4 separate regions of the Homo sapiens genome follow, and all the other regions are linked to region 2. Evidence: promoter capture Hi-C in 16 types of primary human blood cells and fetal thymus (Javierre and others, 2016). All regions are on one chromosome and are shown on one strand. Each heading gives the region's core, a stretch centred on a gene start or on the middle of the fragment in contact. The rest is flanking DNA. Distances are from core to core; before and after follow the strand shown.

The links. Contacts are between HindIII fragments. The CHiCAGO score rates a contact against its expected background, and 5 or more counts as called.
Region 1: a contact is called between a fragment that was not itself captured here and the fragment with the promoter of NCOA3 in region 2, in 3 of 17 cell types (activated CD4 T cells, total B cells and naive B cells). The highest score is 10.5, in activated CD4 T cells.
Region 3: a fragment that was not itself captured here is called in contact with the fragment with the promoter of NCOA3 in region 2 in 1 of 17 cell types (total B cells); the score reaches 5.4 in total B cells.
Region 4: a fragment that was not itself captured here is called in contact with the fragment with the promoter of NCOA3 in region 2 in 4 of 17 cell types (activated CD4 T cells, naive B cells, total B cells and 1 more); the score reaches 10.7 in activated CD4 T cells.

What each region holds. Positions count from the first base shown.
Region 1 is chr20:47,313,722-47,316,421 of GRCh38, reverse strand. All of the region lies in intron 2 of ZMYND8 (zinc finger MYND-type containing 8), which reads left to right. Among named protein-coding and RNA genes, the nearest start is that of ZMYND8, 42 kb to the left of the region's middle. The HindIII fragment of the contact is 5,242 bases long and covers 1-2,700 here.
Region 2 is chr20:47,500,467-47,503,166 of GRCh38, reverse strand. It overlaps NCOA3 (nuclear receptor coactivator 3), which reads right to left and starts at 1,280. Exons shown (of 23, transcript NM_181659.3): 1 at 1,148-1,280. RefSeq lists a silencer at 921-1,040 and a cis regulatory region at 2,292-2,364. The HindIII fragment of the contact is 2,001 bases long and covers 1-1,949 here.
Region 3 is chr20:47,337,047-47,339,746 of GRCh38, reverse strand. The region is part of intron 2 of ZMYND8 (zinc finger MYND-type containing 8); the gene reads left to right. Among named protein-coding and RNA genes, the nearest start is that of ZMYND8, 18 kb to the left of the region's middle. RefSeq lists enhancers at 1-362, 2,367-2,700. The HindIII fragment of the contact is 1,068 bases long and covers 877-1,944 here.
Region 4 is chr20:47,293,703-47,296,402 of GRCh38, reverse strand. ZMYND8 (zinc finger MYND-type containing 8) reads left to right here. Exons shown (of 23, transcript NM_001281775.3): 5 at 1,624-1,737. Among named protein-coding and RNA genes, the nearest start is that of ZMYND8, 62 kb to the left of the region's middle. The HindIII fragment of the contact is 4,787 bases long and covers 1-2,700 here.

The sequences.
Region 1 (2,700 bases), core at 184-2,683, 190 kb after region 2:
CAGGAAGTGCTGAGCTCCAGGATGATTTCTGGTGGATCACAGGCTTGGGAAGGATCTCCTCATATGCTTGGTTCCTTTTTTTTTTTTTTTTGAGACAAAGTCTCGTTCTGTTGCCCAGGCTGGAGTACAATGGCATGATCTCGGCTTACTGCAACCTCCGCCTCCTGGGTTCAAGCAATTTTCCTGCCTCAGCCTCCTGAGTAGCTGGGATTATAGGTGCTCACCATCACATTCAGCTAATTTTTGTATTTTTAGTAGAGACGGGGTTTCACCATGTTGGTCAGGCTGGTCTCGAACTCCTGACCTTGTGATCTGCCCACCTTGGCCTCCCAAAGTGCTGGGATTACAGGCGTGAGCCACCGTGCCCGGCCTCATGCCTGGTTCTTAATACCCAGTAGACCTTCCCATATTGTTACAATTTCAGCAAAATGTCACAAGGAGAGGAAAATTCTGCTGCTTTCCGCTCCATGCCAAGCTGTTTTCCTGAGTCACTGCTCTGTCCTCTCCATAAGGCTGCATTCCTCCCTCACCCACGTTAACTCATTCAGAACCACTCATTTTTGGGGGATGGGTGAGAGGCAGAGGGTTGTGAGTGAGCCAGCCGGGCGGGGTCACAGGTCCTACTCCCTCAGAAAAGGCAGCAGAAAAGTCTTTCAGATCCAGGGTGAACCAGTGGTTCAGTCGACAGTGGCTGTTTGTCATTGTTCAAAGTTTATAGATGAAATGCACTGGGCAATACATCCTTGTCAGAATTAAATCATTAAAGAAGAAAAAATTGACTCAGCTTTCTGGAAAGGGTCCTTATGGAGCCTGGGTACCACGGCTACAGTCAGGTGTACACCCACCAGTCCATCATCACCAGAGGCCCAGCCCCCACTGGAGTGGGGGGCATTTAAGTAATAATGCCCCCCTGCTGTCTCATCCCTCCGAAGGATACCGAATCCAGCAGGCATTTCCTAATTCTTCTCCCTACAACCCTTCATTGAAATCTCCTGCTGTTGACTGATGTGTCTGTTGTTTGGAACCTATCAAATTTCGACCCCTTGGATACAGTCACTGAACTCTCATCAACTCCAGGGGGAATTGGTGTTTGTAACAGCAAACAGAATTGGGGTTTTTATGTTTTGCTGAAACTAGAAGGTTTGGAATACTCTCAGGTGTGGGCATGCTTGGGCTAGGACCCACCTCCCCCTACCTCTTGCTGAGCAGAACCTCAGTTTCCCCCTTTGTTTCCTGGTGGGCTTGGGTGATAGTCCCTTGCCAACTCTAAATCGCTTACAAGTATATTACTGTCTAGTGATTTTTTTTCCCACTTTCTCATTAAATTAAGTAATGTTGAAGAGGGACTTTTAACATCCTCTGGGGGCCCTGAAGTTTTTAATCATTGGAGCTGAGGACACCTTTGCAAAGGTGAAGGAAGCTATGACTCCATGTCCCTAGAAATTGCACTCCTGTATACAGTGATGGCCTGTTCAAGGGTCCCTGGAGCACTGTCTGGTCTTTAAACAAGAACTTCTAGTCTAGTCCCTTTCTCCCGGCTCTTCCCATTTTGCAGGTGAGGCCCTGAGGCCCTGAGAGGTGGAGACTTGCCTGGGGTTGTTTCCTGTTTAGCCTCATTCTCCAGCCTGACTCCCTTGCTTAGCTTCTATCCTGAGTCCTGAACCAACCCCTCAAATAATGTCTGGAAGTAGAGGCCATTGGCTCTGGCTCGCCAGTGTGGAACAGGATTGTGTAGAGTTGAGAACTCAGACCCCATCTCCTAAACACATACACATACCCTAGCGTTCCTCAAACTAGTGTACCTCCCAGTCTTCGGGAGGACTTATTAAAACAGATTGCTGGGCCCTACCCCAGAGTTTCTGATTCTGTAGATCTGGGGTGGGGCCTGATAATTTGCATTCTTTTTGTTTTGTTTTGTTTTTAAAGATGGAGTCTCTCTCTTTCGCCCAGGCTGGAGTGCAGTGGTGCAATCTTGGCTCACTGCAACCTCTGCCTCCTGGCGCCAAGTGATTCTCCCGCTTCAGCCTCCCTAGTAGTTGGGACTACTGGAGCGTACCACCACACCTGGCTGATTTTTGTATTTTTAGTAGAGACAGGATTTTACCATCTTGGCCAGTCTGGTCTCGAACTCCTGACCTCAAGCGATCTGCTAACCTCAGCCTCCCAAGGTGCTGGGATTACAGGCGTGAGCCACCGCACCTGGCCAATTTTCTTTATTTTCGTAACGTCATCCAGTCACATGATAAATAAGTACACAAGGGTATAGAGTGGAAAATAATCCTTCCCTGGACTCCCCTTCCCTGGACTCCCTGCAGGCACCCCTCCCAAGGCAACCAGTAGTCCCCAAGTCGAGCTTTGTTGTACTTTTGTGTTCATCCAGGAATATTCTAGGTTTATGCAAACATTGATGTGTATATTAAATCTTTTTTTGGGAGGAATATTGGTCCATTAATGGTGCTAGATACACTTTATTTATTATTAATTTTTTTGAGACGGAGTCTTGCTCTGTTGCCCAGGCTGGAGTGCAGTCGTGCGATCTCAGCTCACTGCAACCCCTGCCTCCTGGGCTCAATCGATTCTCCTGCCTCAGCCTCCCAAGTAGCTGGGACTATAGGCACGTGCCACCACACCCAGCTAGTTTTTTGTATTTTTAGTAGAGATGAGGTTTCACCATGTTGGCCAGTCTGGTCTCGAACTCCT
Region 2 (2,700 bases), core at 31-2,530:
AAGAGATGCAGCAATCTTACTCAATACTACTACCACTCTCACGCATCTCATTCAACTCCATTTAAAACCACTGCAGCAAGACAGCTGGTACTCTCCTTCCTGTTTCTTTACCGTACAGGCTTAATAACAAAAACAGGTTGGTTTTGAAGCCCTGCTCAAATATTGCAAAAAGGAAGTCTTCGCATTCGGGAGGGGGAAAAAAGTTTCGACTTCGAGAGAATCTCATAGCTTCCGTGTCATTCCATTTGGGAATCCCAGATCCTGCCAGTGAGGTAGATGCTCGCTCTCTCGGTTAACTTTTCCACCCTAGATGCCCTCAAACTGCCTAGGAAGCAACTAAGTCTCCCAACGACCCATGGCTAGTTTTGTTAAGGCAGGTACAAGACAAGCAGTTTATTTAAACCATGACGAACTGGGTCGATGTTCATAAAATGAGAGATGGGGAGAGCAAAAAAAAAAAAAAAGTAGTAATAAAGACAGCCAAACTCCTAATTTTATCAACCAACTTCCCACTTGCCATTTCCCAGCCTTCACACCAGAGGTAGTAAAACGCCTTTTTACCGAGAAAACTAAGAAGCTACCCGAGCCCAACATGAAAATTCCGCGGACAATTCGTGTTAAAATATTTTTTAAATGCCCAAGTGAGGAGGAAACACAGCAACCAAATCTCACCCGGCTGGGAGGCTGGGGTGGGGGGGGTCCCCGCGGCTTTTCCCTCCCGTGCGTCCCAGAAGCTGCTAAGGAGCCGGGGCAGCAGGAGGACGACGCGGGGAGCTTTCAAAAGGGCTGGGGGAGGCAAGAGGAAGAAAAAACTTTAGGGACAGAAGGGGAAAGTGGGCCCCTGCAGTCCCCCCGCAAACTCCTCGGGTGACCCCTCCGCGCGGGGACCCCCTCGGATCCCCAAGCGGACTGCCACCCAGCTTCGTCTCAGCTCCTACCGCCGCGGGCCGCCCCCCGGGCTGAGGGGAAGCGGCGCGGCCCCGACACCCCGAAACTACCTCAGCGCGTCCCCCGGCCGGCGCGCCCCTCAGTGCCTTGGCAGATCTGAAGCCGCTGGCTCTCGCAGCCTGGGGAACTCGCCCCTCTTCCCTCCGCCTCGCACTCCACCCCCTCGCCCGCCACCGCCTCCTCCTTTATCTCCACTCACCTCCCGCCGCCATTTTCCTCGCAGCTCAGCTTTAAATCGGAAACTCGCCGCTCAGCCCGCAGCCGCCGCCGGCCGCCACCGACTAAGCCGCAGCCGCTGCCGTCGCTGTGGAGCGGCTGAGACAGCAGCAGCTAAAGTCGCCGCACGGGGGCCACTGGGATATGTAGTCCCGAGGCCACGCCCAGCACTACCGGTCCCAGGGGGCCTTGCGCGGCCGGCCTAGGGTTCCAGCGACCCCCACCCTGGCTTCCGCGGCGGAGGGCGTGGCGACGTGGGCTCGTGCGGCCGCTTTCGCCCAGCATCGACTGGGAGCTCCCTCGGGATCCGGAGAACCGGAATGCAGTCCTAGCCCTGCCCTTAATTTTTTTCATATTTGCCTTCGTCCAGTAATACCTAACATTTGTGGAGCGTTTCTGGTATGCCAAGCACGGATCCTCAAAACAAGCATCCGGTAGGGACCATGATCATCCTCATTTTTCAGATGAGCGAACTGAGGCACAAGGTCGGAAGCCACGAGGCTGTTCCTTAGCTGCTAAAGTCACTGGGTGAAATGTTGTTGGGCAGCAGTATATTCAGGGTATATTTAGTCCCGAAGTATCATCCCACAGCGTATTTATGACTTACAATAAAGAACAGCTTGCTTTACAATGGAAAGATCTGGCAGGCACCCCCTTACCAAGTGATCGAACTTAGCACCACCAATAATGGGTCAGGACTGTTGTTATGTGTCTCCTAATATGATGCAGTGGGGAAAGCATATTGCTACCTCTGTCGTATTCTTGCCACATACACACAAAAAGCTTACTTGAAAAAATAAACGAATTCAGAATGTGGGACATTCTACACAACATCTAGCCTGGAGTCTTTTAAAATATGACAGCATGAAAGAGGTGAAAACCAAAAGCAATAGGTGAGACTTGATTGGATTCAGGATGATTTTTTTATGTAAAAAGAATTTGGGGGGCAATTTCAATGTGGACTGTATGTTAGATAATATTGAGTCAGTATTAGATGTGTTGAGTGTAAATAAAATAGAATAATCTGACCACTTACCACCTCCACGGTCAGCACCATCATTTCCCACCTGGACCACTGCAACAGCCTCCTCAGTGTTCTGCCTGCTTCCACTCTTTCCTCTTAGAGTCTATACTCAACACAGCAGCCAGAGGAATCCTGGTAAGAACCAAGTCAGTCTCTGTCCCTCCTGCAAAATTCTTGCAGTAACCTGCAAAGCCCCATACAGCCCGTCTCTTGCCCTGCCCTTCCCTCTCTAAACTCATCACCTTCTTCTCTTCCACTCACTTCTGTAACTCAGCTACAATGGACTCGGCCTCTCCAACGTGCTTAGCACACTCTGGCCTTAAAGATCGTGCACTTGCTATTTCCTCTGCCTAGAACAGTATTTTCCCAGAAAATTCAAATAACCCATTCCCTAATCTCCCCATGGTCATTGTCCAAATGTCACTTATTCAGTGAGGCTTTCCCTAACTGCTCTATTTTAACTTCCTGCCCACTCTGATCCCAGCTTTCCCTACTCCTATTCCTTTCTTCAT
Region 3 (2,700 bases), core at 161-2,660, 160 kb after region 2:
CCCAGCATTTTGGGAAGCCGAGGTGGGCGGATCATGAGGTAAGGAGATCGAGACCATCCTGGCTAACATGGTGAAACCCCGTCTCTACTAAAAATACAAAAAATTAGCCAGGCGTGGTCGCGGGTGCCTGTAGTCCCAGCTACTCAGGAGGCTGAGGCAGGAGAATGGCGTGAACCCGGGAGGCGGAGCTTGCAGTGAGCAGAGATTGCGCCACTGCACTCCAGCCTGGGCGACAGAGTGAGACTCCGTCTCAAAAAAGAATGGTTCTTGGGACAGGGTGGCTGCTCAAAAATGTTAGCTATGATTTGCATCAACTTAGAGACAGTGAATTTTTATTGCTAGGTCTGTCAGGTGGTGAGAATGACTGTTCTGCCATTTCCCCCACTTGCAGCCTCTAGGAAGAAGGTCTGGAGGCAGATGAGGAAACCATGCCCGGAAGACCCCCTGCTTAGAGGGGGCACAGTGAAGAATTGTGGGCCGGGCACTGTGGCTCATGCCTGTAATCCCAGCACTTTGGGAGGCCGAGGCGGGCGGATCACAAGGTCAGGAGATCGAGACCATTTTGGCCAACACAGTGAAACCCCGTCTCTACTAAAAATACAAAAAATTAGCCGGGCGTGGAGGTGGGCGCCTGTAGTCCTAGCTACTTGGGAGGTTGAGGCAGGAAAATGGCATGAACCTGGGAGGCAGAGCTTGCAGTGAGCCAAGATCACGCCACTGCACTCCAGCCTGGGTGACAGAGCGAGACTCTGTCTCACAAAAAAAAAAAAAAAAAGAAATAATTGTGTAGGGTTGCCCAGCAGGCAGGCTCGGGACCAGATAGGAATTTGCTTCTCTCCATCTAGGAGTCCAGTGCTTTGCACTGCCCTGCAAGCTTCCTGTCCTGTTGGCCTCTGTGACATTTGAAGAAGCCATTCTGCAGGTGTTTGGAAGGATTTTCTCGGGTGCTTGGGAATTCTTGCTTTGGTAGGGAATCATTGAGGGGAAGGGATCACCTTGTTTTGAGGGAGAACTTTCCCCAAGGATTCTCTGGGGTGGTTGTCGTTATGTGAAACTGAGCTCTCGTGCCCCATAGTGAGTGGCGGTGGTGGTAGCTTCTGTTTCCAGAGCACCTTTCTGCCGGAGCCACTTGGCTTAATATTCAAAGTCCTGGGGTTAAGATTGGGGTTGCTGAGGTTCCCAGAGCTGAAGTCTGCATGGTGAAAATATGATGTCTGTGAAGCTGACCGGGATGAAGCCTTATCTCTTGTTCAGTCCCAGTGATCTCAGCGTCCGCAGTGGGATGATCTCCAGGCTCAGTGAACATGTTTTTTTTTTTCCTCCAGCCTGCTTTTCTTGGGAAGTTTAGGGACTCTGTTCCCCTGTGACATGACCCGGGTCAGGGTCCTTCGGTTCTGAGCAGGAAAGGGATGGACTGCAGGTGGTCTGTTGGTGTGAAGCTGCTCCCACTGCATTGGTGGGAAGGCTGGAGGTCCAGGCCACTCTCGGGAGTAGAGCCAGCCCGGAGCCTCCTCAGGGACAATAGCGCAAAGTCCATGTGCACGTCTCTGGCCAGGGAAGGGCTAATATCCTGGACACCTGGACCCACCAACGCTGTCCCCACTGGGAAAGAGATGGGTCCTCAAAAGGAGATAAGGTGACCACTCTACCATCTTATGAACCTGGCAACGTGTTTTTCTCTACTTGCACTTAGAAAACAGGTGCTGAGCCGTCCTCTTCTTGGGAAACTTAGAAACTCTGACAATAATTGGTGCAGAATTCCTCAGTCCTATTCCTACATCTAGTCCATGTGACCTTTCAGTTTCTCTAACTGAATTTCAATTTTTACGCCCCTCTCCCCTTGACACATACTCACTTATTAACTGAGTAATTCCCAAGCCAGTCATTGCCATTATGCCAGCCTTGGCATTTAGTAGAGCGTTTTAGCTCTCAGGAGACAAAGCTTTCGAGCTTTCAAGATGTCAGGTTGACATTTGTGTCCGAGGGTAATGATCCTGCTGAAAGATGCTCCTACATCAATGGGAAGTGCCATCTCGATGCCAGGTGTGTTTGCGTGGCTAATATTTTCTGAGTACTTCATGGCATGATATGCAAATTACTTCATTTAATTTTCATACTAATTCCATGATGTGGGTGTGTCATTCCCATTTTACAGTTAAGGAAACTGAGGCTCAGATGAATTAAGGAAGTGTCAAAGTAGGGATGGAACTAGGGTCAGGTTTTATCTTTATTTATTTATTAATTATATAGAGGGTTATTGCCGTGTTGCCCAGGCTGCTCTTGAACTCGTGGGCTCAAGGGATCCACCTACCTCGGCTTTCCAAAGTGCTAGGTTTACAGGCGTGAGCCACCACTCCCGGCCCTTTGATTTATTTTATTTTATTTTATTTATTTATTTTTTTGAGACAGAGTCTCCCTCCATCACCCAGGCTGGAGTGCCTATCTCGGCTTACTGCAGCCTCCGCCTCCTGGATTCAATTGATTCTCGTGTCTCAGCCTCCGGTGTAGCTGGGGTTACAGGCGCCTGCCACCACGCCCGGCTAATTTTTGTATTTTTAGTAGAGACAGGGTTTCACTGTGTTGGCCAGGCTGGTCTCGAATTCCTGACCTCAGGTGATCCACCCGCCTTGGCCTCCCAAAGTGCTGGGATTACAGGCGTGAGCCACCGTGCCTGGCTGGCCCTTTGATTTTTAAACCTTT
Region 4 (2,700 bases), core at 160-2,659, 210 kb after region 2:
TCATCCCCCAGCTGATTTGCCCCTGGGCTCATTGGTCAGTATTGCATCACCAGTCCTTGTACAAAAAAGCCTTGAAAATTGCATATGTGGTGCTTTTTGTGTTGTGGGAACCAGGCACTGCCAGCCAGGAAGAAGGAGTGGGGGGTGAGAGGGAATGAATGATAGTTGGGCAGGCAGCCCAAGTGTTTGCCATGGATAAGTTACCTGGAAACAAACCAGAATCAAACAAACAGGTGCTCTGTGTCTAAGATTCGGGGCTCTGAATTTCTTCCAGGGATGAGTTGTTACGGCAGTCAACTGGGAAGACTGAACGTTGCAAGGCTGTGGTAGCTAAGCAAATAGATGCATGCGTCATGCACTGTTTTCAGCTTCTGAGTGACTCTTGTGTTGGCCTTTTCCTCGACAACCAACGAGACACATCTGAGAGTTCCTTTTGGAGGCCCCAGAGATGTGAAAAATGGAAACAGAATCCAAATTAATTGGAGAAAACTTTTCTCAGCTCTCCCTACACAGATGGTTAAAGAGTGTTTCCTGACATGATCAGAATTTGCTATTTTTGTTGTTGCTGCTACATAAGGATTCTGAAGCCTTAAGATGTAGTACCAGATTTACATAGCAGAATCTGGTTTCAGACGTTCCTTTGGGTCTCTTCTTTGATGGGAATTTCCCTTAGGAGCTGATATCTATTACCCATGGAGATAGACAGTTAGGTTAGGTTGTGCTCCTTGTGTACTTTGACACAGTGCCTTAGGTGGGTTCAAAGTAAGGGAGATGGACAATGAAGTCATACGTATTATTAGTCCACTGCTTTCCCTTGTAATCTTTCTGCAGGGAAGTCTGTCCCTTTCCATCAGTGATGTCATTGAATTAATGCCTTGTCAGTTTCCTGAATGACAGCCCAGAACCTTAAGAGGATCAGGATAAATGGTTGATAAGTACCCATCCTGTGAAGTAATCACCCTGAAATCATCCGTGGCCTTTACTTTCTTTTTTTATACATACATATTTTTGAGACAGGGTCTCGCTCTGTCACCCAGGCTAGAGTGCAGTGGCACAATCATGGTTCACTGCAGCCTCCGCCTCCCAGGCTCAACCCATCCTCCCACCTCAGCCTACCAAGTAGCTGGGACTACGGATGCGTGCCACCATGCCTGGCTAGTTTTTGTATTTTTTTGTAGAGATGGAGTTTCATCATGTTGCCAGGCTGGTCTCCAACACTGGGGCTCAAGCAATCTACCCACCTCAGCCTCCCCAAGTGCTGGGATTACAGGCGTGAGCCACCACGCCCACCTGGCCTTTGCTTTCATATCCCATTCTTGAAACCTAAAGGTTATAATAATGATGATTTTTCAGGCCCCTGTTTAGCCACATCTTTTCTCAGATCATGTCGTCTTCCTGAGCTAAAAATGCTTCCTGATAAGGAAATAGATTGATACGCTTTTTAATAGTTACCCACTGATCTGGTACATTTTGTTCCAGGAGTCTTTGCTAAGTGAAACAACAAGTCTCATTGGGATGAGAATTGCTTTTTGTCTGTCAGTTGACTGAAAAAATAGAAATCAGTACATGGATGGTAATTTCTTTTTTCTAACCGGACGTTTATGTATGACTTTGACTTTGTAGAAAATTACAGTAGCAGAATGCATCGAGACCCAGAGTAAAGCCATGACAATGCTCACCATTGAACAGTTATCCTACCTGCTCAAGTTTGCCATTCAGAAAATGAAACAGCCAGGGGTAAGAAGAAAGTTCCTCTTGGTATACGCGTAAATGAACGTAATGACATATGTTTTGTTCTGTTAATAGCTTAGCTTTTTAGGTACCTGATGTATTCTTTGGGCCTCCTTGCATCCCCAAATTCAAGTATGTGTAAATCACACATGAGGTATGATGCCATTCAGTTAATTCTCTGTCGTAGTAAGCACTGTATGTCCCAGAGGAGTTTAATTGGTACATTAGTCTGTTTTCACACTATTGTAAAGATATTACCTGAGACTGAGTAATTTATGAAGAAAAGAGGTTTTTTTTTTTGTTTGTTTGTTTGTTTTTCTGAGATGGAGACTTGCTCTGTCACCCAGGCTGGAGTGCAGTGGTGTGATGTTGGCTCACTGCAACCTCTGCCTCCCAGGTTCAAGTGATTCTCGTGCCTCTGCCTCCCCAGTAGCTGGGATTACAGGCTCCCGCCACCGCACTGGCTATTTTTTTTTTTGTATTTTTAGTAGAGATGGGGTTTCACCATGTTGGCCAGGCTGGTCTCAAACTCCTGACCTCAAGTGATCCTCCAGCCTCGGCCTCCCAATATGGTGGGATTACAGGCATGAGCCACTGTGGCTCGCCAGAAAAGAGGTTTAATTGACTCACAGTTCTGCATGGCTAGGGAGCCCTCAGGAAACTTAAAATGATGGTGGAAGGCGAAGGGGAAGCAAGGCACGTTTTACATGGCAGCAGGAGAAGGGGGGTGGGAAGTGCCAAACACTTTTAAACCACAAGATCTTGTGAGAACTCACTCACTATCACGAGAACAGGATGGGGGAAACCACCCCCATAATCCAGTCACCTCCCACCAGGTTCCTCCCTTGACATGTAGGGATTAAAATTTGAGATGAGGTTGGGTGGGGACACAGAGCCAAACCATATCAATTGGGCAATGACATAGTAAAACGTTGAGGGGGATTGAAAATTCTGACTGGTTGCAAAGTG